Regions from separate parts of the Homo sapiens genome. Here region 2 is linked to region 1. The links are contacts of gene promoters, found by promoter capture Hi-C in human tissues and cell types (Jung and others, 2019). All regions are on one chromosome and are shown on one strand. The core of a region is centred on a gene start or on the middle of the fragment in contact, and the rest is flanking DNA. Distances in the headings are between cores, read along the strand shown.

Region 1 (3,545 bases), core at 892-3,391:
GGGATTTGAATTCCACCTGCCGGGCTCTAAGTCCTGAGTGCCCATTAGCCCTTCTGAGTCCTGAATCTTGCAGTTTGTTCCTGCAGACTCTCCACTTCTGGGTGGCTGTGGAGTCTGGTGTGGCAGTGGGATGGGGAGGAGACCTTCCCTTCCACCTGCTTGCTTGAGTGTATTCCCAGGAGATTTCTGAAGATGAGGCCACCACCATTGTTTCTGAAGTGGGAGGGCAGAAAGGAGGCTGAGGGCCAGGTGAGACCTCGTCACACCTGCACCCATGCATGCCCAGGAGGAACCCTCCTTTGAACTCTTCTGACTCAGCTTCTTGCTGCCAGGTTCCTCCGACCAGTGAGCAGGTTCCCAGGACATGAAGGGGAGCTGTGAGGGAGCAGGACGCCATGGTCCAGGGCTGCAGCTTCCTGAGCCCAGAGAATGCCTTCCTAGCTGTCAGGAATGGAGCAGCGAGGCCCCAGTGATAGGTGAGGTGGAGAAGCAAGACATGAGTTCTGGGCTGGCTCAGCTGCTTTACAACCAGCCTGGGCCTCGTTCCCTTTGAGAAAATGGTTTGCCCAGAGTTCAGAGATCTAAAATTCTATGATGCCTTCTGGGGCCACAGTGGGAAGCAAAGACTCCTCATATTTTCTTTCCTGACACTTCCCAGGCCACAAGACAACTGCTTTCTGCAGCACCCAGCCTGGGCAGGCCATCTACACAAGCTCAGTCATTTCTGACCTTGCCCCCTCCACCGTGCACCCCCATGTTCTTCAACATGGGTCAGGTTTCTATTCAGCCTCAGGGACTTCTCTGCTTGAAGCCTGTTGTGTGGCGGGGAGGTATTCTCCCCACAGCTCAGAGAGATGGGGTTGCTGTGGAGGGTTTGCTGTAGCTCCTCTACCCTGGAATATACCCTCTTCTGCCTTAAAAGACCCAGCTTGGACCCTCTCTTCCAGAAATGCTTGCTAACCGCCCCCCCACCACCCAAACTAGGTCAGGGGTCCCTCTGGGCTTCACAGACCCTGTGCTTCTTTCTGTCACAGCCTGCAAGTCTCCCCTCCCCACTCCCCAGCCCGAGTGCTTCTCTGAGACAAGGGATAGTGTGAGCCATGAGCTCAGCCACTGGTAGGCCAATGAATAAGTAAGTTAATGGTGAAGCCAGGATCCAAATCCCCATTTCCTGCCTCAAGGTGTGGAGCTGTTTCTCCTGCATACAATAGTAGCTCTGCTGTGACAACTCTCTATCTGTCCTAGGGCCTAAAATGCCTCTATTTCACTAGGTTATAGCTTTATCCTAGGGAGTCCTCTTTGGAAGCAGGGTGGGGGTGCAACAGGCCTTCCCCCATGCCTGTAGTCTGTGAGCAGCGAAGGCCATGTGGGGCAGGCTGTGGCCTAGGTCTCCACAGATCCTGGTAGAAGTCCATGCTCACGCATCAGCTCCAAGTCCCAGCTAAACCAAGCCACCAAGAGGTGGGCCCTGTGACAAGGCTCTGAGTCCAAAGGCCATCAGTAAAGCCCCCTAAGTCTTCCGTGGACCCAGCTCCAGGCTGGGATGCACGCTAGGAGATGATACACACCGGGTGAGGGAGCCCAGAGGAGAGGGCAGCTAGCTGTGCATGGAGGCCTGATCTCTCAGACTTGAGGGCACAAGCGTGTCCCCTCATCCTGAAGGCTTCTGCGATGGGGCAGCAGAGGGTCTGGGTCTGCTGCCCCTCAAGTCCCCAGCCCCATCCTAGCCCATGAGGATTGTAAATCCCTCGTCCTCTCCCCTCTCTCCTCTGTCAGCCACTCCCCTTTCCCCCTACCCCACTCTCTTTCTATTTCTGCCTCTGATTTTTTTTCCTTTTCTGCCTTTGTTCCTCTGTGTGTGTGTTTCTCTATGCCTCTCTGGTCTCTTTGTACTTCCATCTTGATCTCGCTAAGGCTCTGATCCCTCTCTCCTCTCCCTCTTCATGTGTTACTGTCCCCCTTCCTGTCTCTGTTTATCTCTCAGTCTCTCTGTCTGTGAGTCTTTTTTCCTCTCTCCCAGTCAGACTCTCTCTCTACCCCTCCCTCTCTCCCTCTCTCCCTCTCTGTCTGGGCCTCTCTCTGTTCCTCCTCCCTCCTCCCTCCCCCTTCTGCATTATCAGACCTGCTCCAACCTCCTCCCAGAGCCAGCCGAGCAGCAGAGGCAGTGGCAGCGGGAGAGGCGGGAGCAGCGGGGCAGCAGAGCTGGATTGGGGTGTTGAGTCCAGGCTGAGTAGGGGGCAGCCCACTGCTCTTGGTCCCTGTGCCTGCTGGGGGTGCCCTGCCCTGAACTCCAGGCAGCGGGGACAGGGCGAGGTGCCACCTTAGTCTGGCTGGGGAGGCGGACGATGAGGAGTGATGGGGCAGGCATGCGGCCACTCCATCCTCTGCAGGAGCCAGCAGTACCCGGCAGCGCGACCGGCTGAGCCGTGAGTATAGTGAGGGGCTGGGGTGGTGAGCGGCTGTGAGAGGTGCCACAGACAGGGTCCTGGGAGTCCCTCCAAGGAGCTGGGGTTGGCATGGAGCTGAGCCACGTGGAAGGATCGATCCTGTTCCTGGGCACCCCTCCTCCCCGCGTTGCCAGACTGCAGCCTGGGGTGGGGGCAGGTTACCTCTGAGCAGAATGAGGGTGTCTAACGTCAACCTAGTAGGTGATGAGGCTGGGGTCCCATGGAAGGGGCTGCTGGTTGGAGGAGGGGCTGATAATGAACCTGAACCGGTTCTTCAAGGGCTGAGGGTGTATGTGGGGAGGGGGAGGTCTGCCAAGTAGTTGGGAGGAGCTCTCGGGGCTGCAATAGGCTGGTTCAGGACCCGGAGAGGGAGAGTGTCTTGGCCCACCAAGGCTATGTGTGTGTGAAGGAGGTGGGGAGGGGGAAAGATGGAGAAAATATGAATAAGAGTGGCCCTGGAGCAAGAGAGGGTTAGAGGTAACCACCTTCCATGGAATTGGGAATTGGGGTTCAGGGACACCACTTTATGAAACTTTACCCCAAAGCGTCTGTCCCAGGATAGGGTTCTACGGAGCCAGATGGAATATGGTGCCAGCCTCGTGTGTGTCCACGTGCAGGGGGGTGCATGTGCAAGTGAGTGGGGGGCGCCGTGGCGACACCCCTCTACTAAGGGCTGCCGAGGTGGTAGGCAGGGTATGTGTGTGTGTGTGTGTGTGTATACATGTGGAATGTAAGGGACATGTTGGGTGTAGAGGGGCCTGTAGAGCTCTAGGGTCCTTGGTGGTTGGATGTAAAGCAGCCTGTCAGAGTTTGTGATCATCCCTGTGTGAGTGAGAGTTTATTCGCATGTGTCTGAGTGTGAGTGCAGGTTGGTCTGCATATGTATGTAGGTGTGTCTATTAGGTTGAGTTTGTATATTATGTGTGTTGTGTCTGCAAAATAGAGTGAATCAGTGTGCATTTTTTATCTGTTCCATGTGCATTTATGTGTGTGTATTTGTTAGTGTGTGAATAATAGCATTGCTGTGTGTGGAGGTGGATGTGGCTGTGTGCGTATAAGTATTCTGGTGTGGGTGTGTGATCATGGTGCTAGTGTGTA
Region 2 (4,018 bases), core at 334-2,833, 54 kb after region 1:
GGGTGTGGGGTGACATTTCATTGTGGTTTTGATTTGCATTTCCCTAATGATTAGTGAAGTTGAGCATCTTTTCATGTGCTGGTTGGCCACTTGTATATCTTCTTTGGGAAAATGTTGATTCAAGTCCTTTGCCCATTTAAAACATTGGGTTGTTTGCTTTTTTGTTGTTATTGAATTGCAGGGGTTCTTTATATATTCCAGATATTACCTCTTTATCAGATAAAAGCTTTGCAAATATTTTTCTCCCATTTCATAGGTTGCTTCGCTGAAATATGTTAAAGCAAATCCCAGACATGATGTCATTTCACCAAAGGTAGACTTTTTTTTTGGTGGGGGGAGCTTTCCGGTGAAGACTGAAAAACCTGCTAGACAAATTCTAAAATAGATGTGACTTTGGATTTTTGTTTTTTAAGGCTAGGAGGTCCTGGATGATGCTGAAATGTAACAGTGACACAGAGCCAGTGTGGAACTGTGTCTGATGCTGTGTGAGGGTGACATGGTGGCTTTGGGAACATGGGTGCAACACTGAAGATATGGGAGACTCCAAGTGAGGGTGACAGTGAGAGATCACTGTGTGTGTGGCCCTGTGACACCCAGTGACATGGGACAGTGGGACGCTGTGGACCCTGAAATGACTGTGTGTCACCGAGCAGGTGGGACCTGCTGTGTGAAGGCCACAGGTGTCATGTCTTCTTGTGTCATCCTGGTTGATGAGTGTGACACAGTGCAGGACTCTGCATGGGAGTAAGAGGGACTGAAGCTGTGCTATAGGTGACCGGGCTGCATGTGATTCAAGTGGGCTCAGCCCCAGCTTCAGCTGCTGAGTATGGGAGGGAGCATGGACATTGTAGGGTAGATGAGGAGAAACACTGAATGGGAACAGAAATGGTGTCTGTGCCCAGATGCGAGCTCCTCCCTTCTCTGAATACCCAGGAAGGCTTCCTGGAGGCAGGATGTGGGCACTTCAGCAGGATGTTGTAGGTGCTGATTAAGAGCAGGGCCTGTGGTGTCAGACAGCCCTGTCTAGGCTCTGACATTCAGCAGGTCATTTTATCTCTTGAGCCTCAATTTCCTCAAGTATAAAATGGGAGCTCTTAGGAGGATTGCATGAAGCAGTGCTCCAATGCATGCAGTCTCTGGCACTTGGTAAATACTCTATGGTCTCTTGGGGAGCAGCAACCTCAACACCTGCACCCCAGGTCCCCAAATAACAGGAGCACCAGTAGGAGCACAGTGAAGGTGCGCTGAGTGAGGTGTCCTCTTACACCCACAGCCCTCCTCTCTCCCTCTCCCCCAACTTCTGTCCCCTGCTTGGTGTTGTCAGCGATACCCCCTCCTGCCCACTCACTCCTGCCCCCTCCTCTCCCCTGCCGTCCTTACCACTGTCAGCCTCCAGCCCAGGCTCCTGCAGCCTCATCCAATTAGGCCAATGCAATTTGCTCAAGAAAAAGCCCCATAATTTGGTTAATCACACCAGTAGGGGATCTGGTCCCGGTCGGGAGGGTGGGGGTGGATAGGAGTCCATACCCGCAGCTGAGGCACAGGTGTCAAAGTGCCTGTCTTTTGGGACCTTTACCCACTTCCTTGGGCTCCTTTCAGGAGCCAACAGAGTCCAAAGCTTGGGTCTTCTCAAACCCAACTACAGAGGCCTTGAAACAGGAGTCTGGACTTCCTGGGTTCGCTTGTGTTCCTGGGAGGGTCCCTGCTACTCTCTGGGCCTCAGTCTCCCTTTCCAAAAATGGGAGTGGAACTGGGGAGTCTCAGAGGCCCCAGTTGGCCTAGCTCTGCATCCCAGCTCTGGTCAGTCCCCCTTGTGGCTTCTGAGGGGCCTTCTCCTGGGCCTTGGGGAGGGAGCACTGAGGGGTAGGTGGAGAGCACAGGGCCCCAGGGAAGTGAGGAGGGGTAAGTGTCCTCTGAGTCTCATCTGGAATGTGTCTACCCCAGTCCTATAATCAGAGACCCTCTAGTTCCAGGCTGCACACCTGAAGGTGGGGCAGGAAGAAAGGAAGCTGCCCTTTCTTGGTCACCTGCAAGGCCAAAGTCTCTTAACCGTGCAGGCTATACCTTGCACAGGAGCTCCAGCAGAGGTGGGGTGGTGCTGAAACTGAGCCCACTCTCCCTCACCAAGCCTTTCCCCTCAGGCCCGCATCTGCCCAGAGAATTGGGGTCCCTCCTTTCTAATGTGCACACAGGTGGCCCCAGCCCCCTGCTGGGAGTCAGCTTAGGCAAGGTTTGATGGCTCAGCTTAATCTTCTCAGCAGCTCTGGGGGAAGAGACCATTTTACGGATGAGGAACTGAGCCCAGGAAGGTCCAAAGACTTGTCCAGTACATGTGGTGTGTGGCAGGGCAGGCAGATGAGCCCGCATCTGAGGGAGGCGATGGGAGAAGTGACAGGGGTGCGCAGAGGAGGAGAATTAGACCCTCTCAGATTCCACCACTCTCAGCCACACGTTCACTCACTCATTTGGAGACAAGACTAACCACCAGCGCATTCACAGCACCCCAGACAGCCACATACTGACTATACCACTGTCACATGGACATCAATGACCTGAATCACATATGCATAGATGCAGGCCCACATGGTCACTCCCACGTGCAGATGGCCAGTGCACACACATAGACACAGGGTACTCACACATGTTTACACTCTCACGACCCATGTGGGTTACAGATTCCTACAGAGACACAGACCTACATACTTTCACAAGGAAATTCTCCCAGTGACCCAGGGAACATAGTCTGCCATGATGATGTGATGGTCCGTAGGGGCTCGCCACTATGGACCATTAATGGGCAGGCTGCACACATGCTTAGGTCCCCAGCAAAGCGGGAGTTCTGCACAGAGTGAGAGGAGAGGTCAGTTCTGATGAGTGTATCCAGAATTTTGCAATCAGAAAAACCACACAAAAACTATTTTAATTTTCATTTCCAAGATAAAATTTAGTTTGAATTGTATAGAGGGTCCGAGGGTCTGGTGGGAGGGCATCATCATCTTTTCAAGGCTTTGGGGTTCTAAGGCACCCACAGATTCACAACAGTCCCACAAGATATCCCAGGCTGACATATTTACCCAGCCCAGTGTGTGCGTGTGTGTGTGTGTGTGTGCGCACGCTGTGTGCATGCTCATGCTGGCTCCCAGATCCTCGGGATGTGAGGAAGGAAAGTAGGAGAGATTCCAGAGACTCCGGATGTTTGTTCTCTGGCTTCCTGGGCCCTTCAAAGGAAAATAACTCTGGATGTCAGCCTGCCTGCCTGGCGGGCTGGGTGGAGAGGTGGGCTGTTTATGTTGGGAGGTGGGCTGTATGACAGCCTGCCTCAGCCCCTGTGGCCCCACTGACCGGGACCCTGTGTAATGAGGCAGAGTGACCAAGGCCCATGGCCAGCGTCCCATGGGCTCGTAGGCCCATCGCCTCCCCTCTCTGGGGCTTGGCTCTCTCATCTGAAAAATGGAGGTGGGAAGGAGATGAGACTGGATGGGCTTTCTCCTGGAGACTGATTAGAGAGACAGAGACTCAGGCCCGGGGTCCAGAAAAGACAACCAAAGCTGGGGAGGGCACATGAAGGGGGGCAAAGAAGGTCTGGGTTCAGGGGAGTGCGTGGGGCCCCAGAGCCTGCCATGTCTCCGCCAACTCTCTCCCTCACTGGAGGAGGGCTCTGTGCCTTGGTGCCCCACCTGCCCAGGGCCCTGTGGCTCAGCCCCTTGCTTGCTCTGTGAGGGGGACGGGAGAAGGATGAGAGTCCCAGTGATAGGGGGAGGACAAGACCAGGGGAGAGGGCTGGGGGTTTCTGGAGGGCCAGAGCAGGAAGAGCAGGAGAGAAGAGAGGACACCACAGTGCAGGAAACGGAGGAGCAAAGGCTGGGAGTGGGGAGGCTGGAGGGGTGCAGGGAATCAGACTGGGGCGCTGCGAAGAGGCCTGAGGCCAGAGCAGGCAGTGCCTGGATGGAGGGAGCGAGCAGCTCCTCACCCTCAGCTCCTTGATGAGGTAAGGTGACCACGAGCCCTGCTCCAGGCT

What was found. The method cuts DNA at HindIII sites, captures the fragments that hold promoters and counts their contacts. A contact is called where the count stands out against the background at its distance.
Region 2: a fragment that was not itself captured here is called in contact with the fragment with the promoter of PDE2A in region 1 in 8 of the 25 tissues and cell types used here (adrenal gland, dorsolateral prefrontal cortex, heart right ventricle and 5 more).

The regions. Positions count from the first base shown.
Region 1 is chr11:72,673,018-72,676,562 of GRCh38, reverse strand. PDE2A (phosphodiesterase 2A) reads left to right here and starts at 2,141. Exons shown (of 31, transcript NM_002599.5): 1 at 2,141-2,426. The coding sequence starts at 2,356. RefSeq lists enhancers at 417-917, 1,068-1,692, 1,693-2,319, 2,320-2,945, 2,946-3,545. The HindIII fragment of the contact is 13,863 bases long and covers 1-3,545 here.
Region 2 is chr11:72,618,144-72,622,161 of GRCh38, reverse strand. All of the region lies in intron 2 of PDE2A (phosphodiesterase 2A), which reads left to right. LOC105369377 (a long non-coding RNA gene) reads right to left here. Exons shown (of 4, transcript XR_001748292.2): 4 at 2,973-3,218. It also overlaps the pseudogene RNU7-105P. Among named protein-coding and RNA genes, the nearest start is that of MIR139, 5.0 kb to the right of the region's middle. RefSeq lists an enhancer at 3,262-3,781. The HindIII fragment of the contact is 3,656 bases long and covers 1-3,411 here.